3 separate regions of the Homo sapiens genome follow, and regions 2 and 3 are each linked to region 1. Evidence: promoter capture Hi-C in 16 types of primary human blood cells and fetal thymus (Javierre and others, 2016). All regions are on one chromosome and are shown on one strand. The core of a region is centred on a gene start or on the middle of the fragment in contact, and the rest is flanking DNA. Distances in the headings are between cores, read along the strand shown. Region 1 holds the start of ALMS1 (ALMS1 centrosome and basal body associated protein). Region 2 has its middle 2.8 kb from the start of PAIP2B. Region 3 holds the start of NAGK (N-acetylglucosamine kinase).

What was found. Contacts are between HindIII fragments. The CHiCAGO score rates a contact against its expected background, and 5 or more counts as called.
Region 2: a fragment that was not itself captured here is called in contact with the fragment with the promoter of ALMS1 in region 1 in 2 of 17 cell types (total CD8 T cells and non-activated CD4 T cells); the score reaches 7.2 in total CD8 T cells.
Region 3: a fragment that was not itself captured here is called in contact with the fragment with the promoter of ALMS1 in region 1 in 1 of 17 cell types (fetal thymus); the score reaches 6.3 in fetal thymus.

The regions. Positions count from the first base shown.
Region 1 is chr2:73,383,859-73,388,421 of GRCh38, forward strand. It overlaps ALMS1 (ALMS1 centrosome and basal body associated protein), which reads left to right and starts at 1,978. Exons shown (of 23, transcript NM_001378454.1): 1 at 1,978-2,334. The coding sequence starts at 2,011. It overlaps LOC105374804 (a long non-coding RNA gene), which reads right to left and starts at 1,823. Exons shown (of 4, transcript XR_007087053.1): 1 at 1,595-1,823. RefSeq lists enhancers at 1,737-2,486, 2,527-2,766 and silencers at 1,737-2,136, 2,297-2,466. The HindIII fragment of the contact is 2,912 bases long and covers 496-3,407 here.
Region 2 is chr2:71,227,571-71,232,155 of GRCh38, forward strand. No RefSeq gene overlaps it. Among named protein-coding and RNA genes, the nearest start is that of PAIP2B, 2.8 kb to the left of the region's middle. The HindIII fragment of the contact is 2,277 bases long and covers 1,611-3,887 here.
Region 3 is chr2:71,067,023-71,071,182 of GRCh38, forward strand. NAGK (N-acetylglucosamine kinase) reads left to right here and starts at 1,626. Exons shown (of 10, transcript NM_017567.6): 1 at 1,626-1,690; 2 at 3,480-3,564; 3 at 3,719-3,817. The coding sequence starts at 1,662. RefSeq lists a silencer at 1,852-1,911. The HindIII fragment of the contact is 1,672 bases long and covers 560-2,231 here.

The DNA.
Region 1 (4,563 bases), core at 728-3,227:
GAATCCAGGGATCAATGTCTTCTAGTTTTACTCCTGGGTCAGTTGTTGATAGTACCTGACATTTTTTTTTCTTGCATTGAGGCTCAAGGGAAATTGTTTTCTAATGCTTTTTCAGAAGACCAAATCTCTAACTTCAGAAGCTGCTTAGGTGGGTGCTTTGAGAATGCAGCTTCCATCTGTTGTTGATAAAGCAGGAGTTAATCTTAGAAGTCTCCTGCAGCAATTAGTGATAACAGCTTATATTAGTAGCATCTAGTATTGGAAGTAATTCACAAATACATGAGGAAGCCTGTTATTAACTCAGAAGGAGATAACTTATGGGCCTTAGAATGGACTGACCTTATTGCCATCAAGGCAAATAGAAGTACTTTGGGCTTTGGAAGTTAGATGGAAGTTAGAGAACTTTGAAAGCTATTTTTTAGAATTCTATTAGTTCTCTTTATCTTTCCTGAAATTTGTGGATGCAAAAAGATAGCGGAGTTTCTAAAAAGGTAAAGCTTTACAGTTATTTAATATCAGTGAAATGTGTGTCCTCTTACTGGAGATAAACATTGAGATTTCACATTCAGGAATACAAAATTAATAAATTCTTTTCTACTATTACAGTAATAGGTCTCCGGCAAGGAGAACCCCTAAACCCCTTAAGAATAAATAACCCTAATGTACTCATAGTCCATTTAGAGGTGTTCAACAGAACTCCAAGACTGGGCTCCAGTTCATGTTCTACCCTTAAAGTTTTGCCAGGATTGGGTCATTGACAGGTAGGCAGGACATACATCCTTGGCAATAACCCTAAAATTGCCCCACCAACATTGGTTCAGCATCATTATCAATGTATCTCTACTATTGTGGGTAATACCATGAAGACTTTTTGCTGGACTCCACTTTAATTATGGCTATTTCCTTTGGTAACAGTGAAGCATCTCAAGATTATAATTATTATTTAAAATTTTAATTTAAAAATTTTCCCCATAGGTTATTGGGGGTACAGGTGGTGTCTGGTTACATGGCATCTTAAGATACTTTAATTTGCCATTCATTTCGTAGAGGTTCCTGAAGCGGTCAGGAAATCTTTGTTTTTAAAGCACTCCAAAGTCATTGACGAACCACCAAAACATATGTACTATCAGTATAAATATTTGCTCTGTTATCCTTTAACAGCTGGTTGGTCTAGGCCAGGGCAATTCCTACACTAACAGAGGACCTGGGATGGCATACTGAGTCAGCCACTTACTAGGTAAGAAACTTTGGGCAAATTAATTTTTTTAGCCTCAGATTCTTCATACATGAAATAGTAATACTTGTCTCACAGAACCGTGAGCATCTAATGAGTTATTGTACAATAACCAACCTATCACTAAGTCCTTCACATTGATTATTTCCTTTAATTATCACACCCATCCTATGCGATGGCCTATTATCATCGTTTTATAAACACAAAGTCACACCACTTTAAGTGGTGATGCCAGGATTCAAACTCCGATCTTTCTGATGCCAGTGCCCAGTTCTTAATCCCTCTAACAACCCGTGACACTTTTCCACGGTTAGGTTCAAGCGCCCACCATACAGCTTGACACTTTAGGAGATACTCAACCTTTAAAACTTTATAATTTGCATGTGTGATTATAACGGGTACGTCCTAGAGTTTGATCTCTTCTCTGTGCAGGGGCGAAACTCGACCCCAGCCGAGAACTACACTGTCCTTGCGCGGGGCCCTCTGCGCCCCGGAAGGCGCCCAGTCCCGGTTTATTGTGAGCTTACAGTACAGTTCGCAAGGTCCCGGCCGGTGACGGCGGCGAGGCGGCAACGTCGCCTGTAGCAAACCTCCGCCCTAAGGCGTTCCCGCCGGGCCTCGCGCGGCGTCCCTAGCAACGCGCGCGCGGTCTTCCGGCCCCGCCCAGGCGGGCGGCACTGCGCCTAAGCTGGGCCACAACCGCCAGTCAGGGCTCTCCCCTTCCCCTCCCTCCCCCCCTCCTCCTCCTCCTCTGCCGCCCAGAGCGAGACACCAACATGGAGCCCGAGGATCTGCCATGGCCGGGCGAGCTGGAGGAGGAGGAGGAGGAGGAGGAGGAGGAGGAGGAGGAAGAGGAGGAGGCTGCAGCGGCGGCGGCGGCGAACGTGGACGACGTAGTGGTCGTGGAGGAGGTGGAGGAAGAGGCGGGGCGGGAGTTGGACTCCGACTCTCACTACGGGCCCCAGCATCTGGAAAGTATAGACGACGAGGAGGACGAGGAGGCCAAGGCCTGGCTGCAGGCGCACCCCGGCAGGATTTTGCCTCCGCTGTCGCCCCCGCAGCACCGCTACTCGGAGGGCGAGCGGACCTCCCTGGAGAAGGTGAGGCGGGCCGGGGAGGGGTGTGGAGCCGCGGCGAGTTGGGGGTGGAGGCTGGGCCCCGAGCGCTCCGCCCGCCCGCAGGTCACGCCGCCTGACGGAGAAAACGCGCGCAGCTGAGGCTAGTAGGCGGCCCAGACTCCAGCCCAGGTGCCGGCCGGCTGCTCCGCGTCTCCCAGGCTTTGTGGCAAAGACTTCTCGTTTCCTCCCCCTCGGTGGGTCCTGGGCCTTTTGAACTCCCGTAGACGTTCAGGGGAGCCTGCATTCCCCGTGAGAAACGCTGAGAGAGGACCACGGGTGTGTCGAGCCTTGAAGGAGGGAAAAGGCGGTGTAGGACCGGAGCGAGTGGTTGCCTGGGGAGCATCTTGTTGGGGAGACAGTGAACAGATGAGCTTGACTGAATTGCAGGACTCCCCTGAGGGAGTAATGTGGATAATGTACACCGCGCGATCACTTAGTCTGGAGAGGCTCCCCGCGGGTTTTCCTCCCCTGGACCATCATTTGTAGCAATAAAGGGGTTCCCCAGCCGATAGGAGGGGCTTGGAATGCAGGAGGCTTGTGATGCGGCTCCAAACAGTCTGCAAAACTACAAAGCACAGATAATACACAATGGAGAAAGCCGATTTCATGGTAGACCCCCGAAGATCATTTTGAAAATAACTCTCCATTTAATTTGCTGCCCTTACCCCCCTTTTTTTAACTTACTGCTTTTCGAGGAGCAAGACCTGCCCTGCTCAGTACAGTAGCCACTGGCCACGTGTGGCTTTTTACATCTTAAAGAGAAAACTATTATAGTTTTGAGTAAGAGTTAAAAATAAATTAAATGAAAAATTCCATGCGTCTGTTCTTACCGGTTTTCAAGTGCTCAGCAGCCACACTAGGCTAGTGGCTACCATGTTGGACAGAGCAGATAATGGAACAGTTCCATCATCACAGACAGTGAAGGTGTAGAGTTTTGTCACTAATGAGCAGTAGTTGTTGTTTTGTCTGGTGAATATTCCAGGGGGTACTTAATTCATTGAACATGTATTATTAGAATTCACCATGTGCCACACATTGTGCTGGGTGCTAAGGAAAGCTTGGTGAACCCAAACATTTTTGGTCTCTGCCTTCCTTGTGTTCATGGTCTAGACAGGGAGGCAGACAGATTTCAGATGATCACATAAAGTGAAACTAATATATGTGCTAATATTCTATGAAAGCATAAAGTAAGATAATCTGGCCTTGTCAGTGAAGTTGGGAAAGCCTTCTTGAGGAGGTTATGATAGAGCTGATATCTGAAGACAGTTTAAGGTTAATCAGGCAAAGGGGAGGGAAAGAGCCGTCTAGCTGAGGGAAAAACACATGAAAAGGTACTGTTGATGAGAGAGAGCATGGCATTTTCCAGGACCCAGAAGCCAACGTGGTTTGAGCACAGACTGCAAGGCTTTGTGTGCTATGCCAAGGATTTAGGGGCTTTATCTCTGGAGCTTTGGGGAGTTGAAGAAAATATTTGAAACGAGGGGATGTATGATAAGTTAGGTGTTTCAGAAAGGTCAGGTGTATAGCAGAGTGTGGAACAGCTGTGATAGCAAGGTGGGATGGGGAGCAGTAGCCATAGGTCAAGGGCATAAATTAGGAGACCATTGCAGCATTGCCCGGCAAAAGATGATGAAAGTTTGGAATAGGGAAGTGTTGGTGGATACAGGGAAAAGTGGACTGATTTGAGAGATATTTAAGAGGCAAAATCATCATACTTAATAACGGATGGGATGTGAAAGGTGAAGTAGCCAGGTGTTAGGTTATTGTTTGAATGGTTGTGCCAATATTAAGATATGGCCAGATTTATGGTGGAGGTGGTGGCTGTGAGTGGGTGGTGGAATTGGTTGGGTGAGTCTTAAGATTATGAGTTTGGTTTTGAAGATTGAAGGAGAAGGCTGGGCTAGAGATTTCAAGTTGTAAGTCATTTACATAGAGACCATAATTAAAGCCACACTTGTTGACTAGGTCTTCTAACTTTTATTTTGTCCTGTGACTTCTTGCTTGAATAACTATTAATATTCAAACTTTATCTTGAAGCCTAGAGGAGGAGTTTTTTAAACAAAATTTTAATTTAATTTTAGATTTGGGGGTACATATGCACGTAATTAACATGGATATATTGCATAATGGTGAGGTTTGGGCTTCTAGTGAACCTCTCACCCAAATAATATACCTTTGTACGTGATAGTGTAACATTGTACTTGATAGGTA
Region 2 (4,585 bases), core at 1,499-3,998, 2.2 Mb before region 1:
TTTCCCTCAGCTGTCAATTACCAAAGGAGGAGCTTTGATTCAGGCTGCTTTGGACCTGGTGCTATTCTCTGTAGGGAAAATTAAGGAATTGGGCTCCTTGGGAGGCTGGAAGGAAGCAAAGGGACGCTGGAAGGAAGCAGACGGATGCTTCCACGTTTCTAGAAACAAACCTAACTTCTTGAGTGCTTTAAAAAAATAAAACTTGGCCGGGCGCGGTGGCTCACGCCTGTAATCCCACCACTCTGGGAGGCCGAGACGGGCGGATCACAAGGTCAGGAGTTCTAGACCAGCCTCGCCAGTATGGTGAAACCCCGTCTCTACTAAAAATGCAAAAATTAGCTGGGCGTGGTGGCGGGCTCCTGTAGTCCCAGCTACTCGGGAGGCTGAGGCAGGAGAATCACTTGAACCCGGGAGGCAGAGGTTGCAGTGAGCCAAGATCGCACCACTGCACTCCAATCTGGGCAATAGAGTGAGGTTGCGACTCAAAAAAAAATACATCAATAAATACAAATTAAAATAAAACTTTATTGCCTCCCTTGGATTTAGAATGTCCAATCTGCTTGCAAAGGACTTCGAATTGTATTCCACAGGAAGTAGGGATTTCTTTGTGGAGCTCTTACTTTATACATTTTTCTCTCCCCCCCACCTCTCAAGCTGACTGTATACATGACACAAAGTTAGGGAATTGCAGAATGAATGGAAAAAATATAAAAATGAAAAAGATAAACTCAAATAACAATTATAAATATTAGCTGTATACTTTGATATGGTTTGGCTCTGTGTCCCCACCCAAATCTCATTTTGAATTATAATTCCCAATGTTGGGGGAGGGACTTGGTGGGAGGCGATTGGATCATGGGGGCAGATTTCCCCCTTGCTGTTCTCGTGATAGTGAGTGAGTTCTCACAAGGTCTGATGGTAAAAAAAGTGTGTGTCCTTCCCCCTTAGCTCTCTCTCCCTCTTGCTACCATGTGAAAACGTGCTTGCTTCCCCTTTGCCCTGATTGTAAGTTTCCTGAGGCCTCACCAGCCATGCCTCCTGTACAGCCTGAGGAACGGTGAGTCAATTAAACCTCTTTTCTTTATAAATTACTCAGTCTCAGGTAGTTCTTTATAGCAATGTGAGAATGGACTAATACATACTTCATATTAAATGATATAAGTAAATAAATAAATTCATTCAACAAGTATTATTTAGCATCTACTATGAATGTTCTAGGCTCTGATCATGGAACTGGGTATATGATATGAATAAGACAGTGAAGATGCACCCATGGTGTTTATACTGTAGTGAAGGAGACTGACAACAGAAAAGTAACCAATAAATAATAAAATGGTATGTTGTGAATAAATGCTACAAAGGAAAATAAAGCAGAGTCATGGGATGGTTGGGGAAATGGCTATTTTAAGTAGGATGGTTAGTTTAAGAGCTGTTTGAGGAAACAGCACTGAACAGAGATGTGAATAATGTGAAGAAGTGAAGAGTGGGAAGGGGCTAATAAGCAGAGCCACTACAGTGCACAACTCCAGGATCACTATTCACATTGCTCCATGTATTTTGAAGTTGTGTATTAGGTGTACATCCATTTAGGGCTGCCAACTCTGGTTTAAAGCTTTATTTGATTACATAATTTAAATGACGCCTGCAAGAAACATGTGTCTTTTAGAAAAAAAAAAATCTCTCTCTAGGATAGCATCCCCATACCCTCCACTGCTTCTTTCCCTGAATTGGCCTTCCGGTGTATGATGAGAGAAAGTTTACACAATCTCATAGGTTTGAAAAACAGGCTCTTCTGGTCCACGTGGTGTCCTTGAGCAGTCAGAAATACTCCTTGAGGATGAACCTTTATTACCAGGATAGCAATGGGATGTAAGGAAGGGTTGATGAACTTCTCTCGTCTCACTTCCTACCACTGGTGCCATCTATTATAAATTCATGGCTGGCTATTACCAGTGATAAAGAGAAAAGTCTTAAAAGCAGGCAGAAAAAAAATATGGCCATTTTAAGTAGAATGGTTAGTTTAAGAGCTGTTTGAGGAAAGACCATTGAACAGAGATGTGAAGAAGTGAAGAGCAGGAAGGGGCTGGGAAACATACAGAGGGGAAAAAATAGATAAGAATTACAGCAAATTTCTTATCAGAAACTATGGAAGCCAAAAGACAATGAAGGAATGAGGTAGCAATGTGGGTATCTGGTGGTGGTGGGCAGGGACAGATATGAGACAAAAACCAGTCATAAAGTTGTAGGAGATGATGTCAATGAGAGGGAGGGAGGCAAGAGAAGCCCATCACCCTTCCCCACATCCTATTGCTATTAGGGCAATAAATCTTCAACCTTGAAGATTACATCATTTCATTTTTTAAAATTTAATTGTGGTAAAATATATATAAAATTTACCATCTTAACTATTTTAAGTGTACAGTTCAGTTACAGTAAGTACATTCACATTTTTGTGCAATCATCACCACAATCCACCTGCAGAACATTTTCATCATTCCTAACAAAAATTCTGTACCCATTAAACACTAACTCCCCATTCTCCCCTTACCCCAGCCCCTGGAAATCACCATTCTGTTTTCTGTATCTGTGAATTTGACTGCTCTAGGTATCACGTGTAAGTGAAATTATGTAATATTTGTCCTTCTGTGTTTGGCTTTATGTCTCCCACGTTTAAGTATCAGAATTTCTTTTCTTTTTAAGGCTGAGTAGCATCATTATAGGTATATGTCCTATTTTGTTTATCAATTCATCCATTGATGGACATTTGGGTTGTTTCTATCTTTTGCCTATTGTGAATAATGTTGGTATGCAAATATCTGTTCAAGGGCCTGCTTTCAATTATTTTGGGTATATATTCTGAAGTAGAATTGTTAGGCCATATAGTAACTCTATGTTTAATTTTTTGAGGAACCACCGTACTGTTTTCCACAGTGGCTGCACCATTTTGCATTCCCGCCAACAATGTACGAAGTTTCCAATTTCTACACATCCTTGCCAACAGTAGTTTCTTTTCTGTTTTTTTTTTTTTTTTTTTTAAATAATAGCCATCCTAATGAGTGTGAAATGGTACCTTATCCAGGTTTTGGTTTGCATTTTATTTTATTTTTCCCATAACTCAGAATGCAATTTTATTTCATTTATTTTTCAAGACAGGGTCTTGTTCTTTCACCCGAGCTGGAGTTCAGTGGCGTGATCATGGCTCACTACAGCCTCAACTCTTGGGCTCAAGCAATCCTTCCACCTTGGCCTGCCAAGTAGCTGGACTACAGGCACGTGCCACCATGCCCAGCTAATTTTTAAATTTGTTGTAGATATGGGGTCTCACTTTGTTGCCTAGGGTGGTCTTGTGCCTGGACTCAAATGATCCTGCCAACTCAGCCTCCCAAACTGCTGGGATTACAGGCATGAGCTACCACTCCGTTTGGTTTGCCTTTACCTAATGATCAGTTATGTTGAGCATCTTTTTTTGTGCTTATTGGCGACTTGTACTTCTGTTTTGGAGAAATGTCTATTCAAGTCCCTTGCCCATTTTTGAATCAGATTGTTTTCTTTTTGAGTTGTAGGGGTTTAAAGAAATATATTCTGGACATTAATCCCTTATCAGATATATGATTTGCAAATATCCTGTGAGTTGCCCTTTCTCTATATTGATAGTGTCCTTTAATACTTGGGGACTACATTTCTGAATGTGCAAGTATACTATCTGGCACTAGAGAGCTTATTTTTCAAAGCTATAAGATCTCATAAGCCCTCTCTTACCATACTCCTGAAAGCCACCTTAGGGAAAGAAGCACTGCTGGGTATGGAGAGATTATTACAGAGACAGATCACTTTTTCCCAAAAGAGCTAAGCATTTCTTATAAGGTTCATTTTATTTAACCAGACAAAGCTTTAAAGTGGAGTGGATATCTAGTTGGTTTTTGGTCTCCCCTCACAACCTAGAGAGGTTCCTGGAAGAAAATGAGATAAGCTGGGAGATAAAGAAATCAGTGGATACACCAACAGCCAACCAAAAGATTCTTCTAGACATCTTCAGGTACCCCAAGAAGAAAGTGAAAAAGAGAAGAGTCTTTGACTCCTCTCTCAAGAAAGTTGTATTATCCATTCATGCTAGAATCAGGAGGACTTCTGCAACTGAGGATCACTAACCCTGGGCAATTTCCACTTGAACACTTCAAGACTTCTTTCTGGGCACCATCATCCACTCATCTATGACTTAATCAGTCCAAGCACCCAGGCTTATTCTACTAGGCAAATAATCTTTCTATGGGGACATTGACTAACCCACGATAAAATACCTAGAGATACTGGCATTTAGAAGTACCCAAGAAATTTCTGGATCCCACCTTATTCCCTGTGGAGAGACCAACTAGTCAACAAGCCCCATTACACACTGTTATCTTTATAGTACCTCATTCTTTTTTTCTTTCTTTTTTGAGACAGGGTCTCACTCTATTGCCTAGGTGGAAGTAGAGTGACACCATCATAGCTCACTGCAGTCTCAAACTCCTGGGCTCAAGTGATCCTCCCTCCACAGTCTCCCAAGTAATGGGGAATACAGGTGTACATCACCATGTCCTGATAA
Region 3 (4,160 bases), core at 146-2,645, 2.3 Mb before region 1:
AAAACTCTTTTGGCATTTAAATCTTGCGTCAGCCCCAGCAGGTAGATGTTTATCATTTCCATTTTGTAGAGGAGAGGCTGCAGCAATTACCTGTAAGTCACCCAAGCTCATCCAGCTAGTAAATGGTGAACTCAATTCTTGTCTTAAACCTGGGCACTTTCCCTTTTGCTTGCTTGCCTAAACAAGCAATACAAAGACAAACTTAATATTTATACACATACGTCCCATGGCTCATTGCAGTAGTACAGGACAGAAACAATTATTTCAAAATCCACCTACAATCTAGTCTCCAAAAATCCTGCCCAGTTTAATTGCACCACAATCTACTAACTGTAATTCTAAAAATGTGTATGTTGGATAATCTTCCAGCTCTAAAGTGCTGTGAATTAAAAAAATGCCATAGGCAGGCATAAAAAAATCCTACCCTCTATTATATTCTCCATCTGATATAGAATATATGATATATATTCTATAAATGAATACATGATACAGAGTCTATCATGTAGTGATTTACTTTTTACTTTTGTGAATTACAACGTGGTAGGGTAGGAAATGAGAAAGCTTAAAAAGCCTAATTTTCTCACTAAAGCATAACCAGACACAGCAGCCTATTAGGGGTTTCTCCAGAAGATGGCAGGCAGTCAAGGGGGACAGAGTTCGACCCGCGACAGGCCAACTGATTTCCCCAAAAAGATGCCAAGGGCAGCTAACCGCCCTCCTGGCCCGCGAAGCTGCTCCTTGAGGGCCCAAAACTTCCCGGAGGAGCCAGAGGAGGCCCTCAGGAGCCACAGCTCTCCCTGACTTGGCCTGTATTTGCACCCCTAGGGATCCCATTCCCTTTCCCGACGCAGCGCAAGGAAGGGGAGCGGAATGGGGGCTGAAAGGCAATAAAAAACTTGTAAAGCCGTATCTGCTAGTTCTCCCAGTGGGCTATGTCCCTGCAAATATCCTCCACAAGAAGTAAACTGGGTGGGTAGGAAGAGGTGAAGGCTCCCTCCTCAGGGCTGCCGGGACCGCCTCGAGGGCTTGTCTGTTTAGGTCCCAATTCCTCCCGGATCCGTACATTCACACGAGCGCAGGGCAACAATCTGAGCGAGTGTTCGTGTGTGCCCGTGTGACTCGCCATCGCGTGGCAGATGTTCAGTAGAACATTACAGTAATTTCTGTTACAGGTCCATGGGCGCAGGTCCCTGAGCCCACAGCTTCGCGGGGGTCTGGCCGAGCATGCGTCACAACCTACGCGGCCAAGAGCAGTGCGCACGCGCAACCTAACGCGGGACTGCCAGCAACTTCCGGGCGTTTACAGGCAGGCAGGTCAGTGATGTGTCCTAAGGGTCCGACCGACCTAGATACCCCTCTTTGATTCCTCCTCTTGGGATTAGTGTCCATCTCTGGAAGCAGGATCCAGGAGGACGGGAGGGGCCGCTGCGGACCGCAGTCGCTCCACCTGGAGGAGACACCAGAAGGAAGACAGCCTGAGGGACGCAGCCATCCCCGGCTCCTACCGGCGCCCCGCCCCGCGCATGCGCACGCGCACAGGGAGTCAGCTGGCTGCGCGGGAGGTCACGGGAAGTGGGGCGGTGCCCAGACAGCTGGAGGGAAGGAGGTGTCAGGCGGGGAGAGACGCAAACGGCGGGACCAGCAGCGACGGTAGCAGCAGCATGGCCGCGATCTATGGGGGTGTAGAGGGGTGAGTGCGGCCCGGCGGAGGGAGCCTGGGCCCGAAGGCGGGGCGGAAGGCCGTGGCCAGCCTGGCAAGCTGGTGGCCTTGATCCTCGGCGTCCGGGCACTTTGGGCGGCGGGACCTTGCGGTGAAGAGGTGTGTGCACGCGCAGGGGCGCCCTGGAGCGCACAGCTGTATGCCTTACGGGGACTCTGCCTGTGCAACAGCCACACCCCGGGTTGGGGATCCTTTGTGTTTCTTGGCGGAACCACGCCCCTTTCTTCCACGAAACACCCACTCCGCTGTCTTCAGCTGGAGAAGCAGCTCCTTTTTCCTATTCCTGACCTCGGACAGAGTTTTGCAGAACAGGTGTCAGGTGTGAAATTGCTGAGCGCGGGCAGGGTGGGGAGTGGGAGTGGGGAGAAGCGGGACAAAGATCTTGGCTGAGGTTATCCGGGAGCTGGAGCAGCTGCGAGCCAGAGTACTAGGTTGTCCTGATGTCTGAAAACCGCTCCATCCCTGTTGGCCTTCCATGCTGCTTTCACTAGATTGCATTTTTCTGCTCAGAAGCTTGTTTACTGAACTTTTTGTAATAGCTCTGCCCCTGGGTATGACCATGGACAAGATATTTACCCTCCCTGGGCTACAGTTACCGTATGTGCAAAGTGAGGATAGGGATAAATAAGATCGCTATGTCCCTGCCAGTGGCAACATTCTGTGAATCTGAGTTTGTCAAATCAGGGAATAATGGGGGTCGCTGGCCTCTCAGCCAGGGCACTGTACTTTCGAATCTGTGATTGTTTTCACTTCTCTGGCAGCCACACCCCACTGCTGATTCACAGACCCCAAAGTCTTTTCACATGAATTGTTAGGAATGATCTTTCCCATCCTGTATTTGTAGCACTTAAAAAAAACAGTATAGGAGTCTGCATTCATCCTTGTTATAGTCATCTGTAAGATATGACCCGTTTCTTCCAGTTCGTCAAGACATGCTTTTGGATGTGGAATCTGCCACCTCATGTATTAACTACCCCCTTGAAATTTCATGTCCTCTTTGAGTTTGATGAGCGGTCTTCAGTGTCTTCTTCTGCCATTCCTAAAAGTAATGATCAATAAAGAAACATATATCCCATCACCACAGATCTCCCTGTGAACTACTGTGACCCCCAGTAATCAACATTTGAAGGTTTAGTTGCTTAAGTATGTATGAAGTCACCCTGCCATCTGGTCAGCATTTCTAGCAAAGGTGTCTTGAAGACCTTGGCAGCTGGATCTTGAAATGCAGTCTTTAGCTATTGTGAGGGAAGCAGAGAGATGTGCCATTTTTCTTAGGAGTGTTTGCTGAGCATTGCCTGTGCCAGCTCCTGTGCTCGTTCTGAGAGGGTAAGTAAGTGATCAGGAGCTTGACCCAGTGGAGCTTGAAGTCTAGTGAGAGGCGGACACAAAGCGTCTGAACACACACTTCATACAGAGGAGACTTTAATAACTTTGGAGGCACTATGAAGGTTTAACTAACGGAGACTTAACTAATTCGTTGGGGTGGGCCACACCTCAGAAAAGGTTTCGAGGACTAGGTGAAGCGTAAGTAGAGTCTTGCAGGATAAGGAGGACATCCCCAAGGGAAGAGGAGTGAGAATTATGTTTCAGTTAAAGAGCACTCAAACACTGAACCACAGAGGCGGGTTTGGGAGTGGTGATTGAGTTTGTCGAAGCTGTCTCCTCCATCATACTGGGCTCTGCCAGTGTGGACAGCACAAGCTTAGCTCTCTCTGTGGGTTTTTCCGAGCAAGATCAAGTGCCCTCTTGTGTTCTGTAGGGGAGGCACACGATCCGAGGTCCTTTTAGTCTCAGAGGATGGGAAGATCCTGGCAGAAGCAGATGGACTGAGCACAAACCACTGGGTAAAAACCACACTGAGGGGATCAGAGGGCTTGGTTCTGATTTTATTCTCTGTAATTCCTGTTGAGGTGGTGGCTGGGACTCACAGAGCAGCCTGTGGGGGCAACATAGCTTCTGTAAGCCTTTGTAACTCCTTCTTCCCTTGATTGGGGCCAGCTGATCGGGACAGACAAGTGTGTGGAGAGGATCAATGAGATGGTGAACAGGGCCAAACGGAAAGCAGGGGTGGATCCTCTGGTACCGCTGCGAAGCTTGGTGAGTCTGGGGCGGAGCCTGGGAATTCAGCCATCTGTGACACTGAGACAGCTAGCAAGTTTGGACTAGATGAGTTTGATGACTGCAGAGGGAAAGACCTCCAAGACTTAGTCCCTGGTGTCAAAACTGTCATAATCTCACCCAGTCTCATGGCTTCAGTTGCCACCTACAAACTACAAATGTGTTGGAAGAGCACAGGGCTTTGGAGAGCTGCTGAGACCTTGGTTTGAATCCCAGCTTTGCTGCTCAGTATCTGCGTAACCCTGTGTAGGTTACTCACCTTCTCTAAGCCTCAGTTTCCTCATTTGGAAAATGTGAATAGTAGCTACCTCAGAGTTGTTGG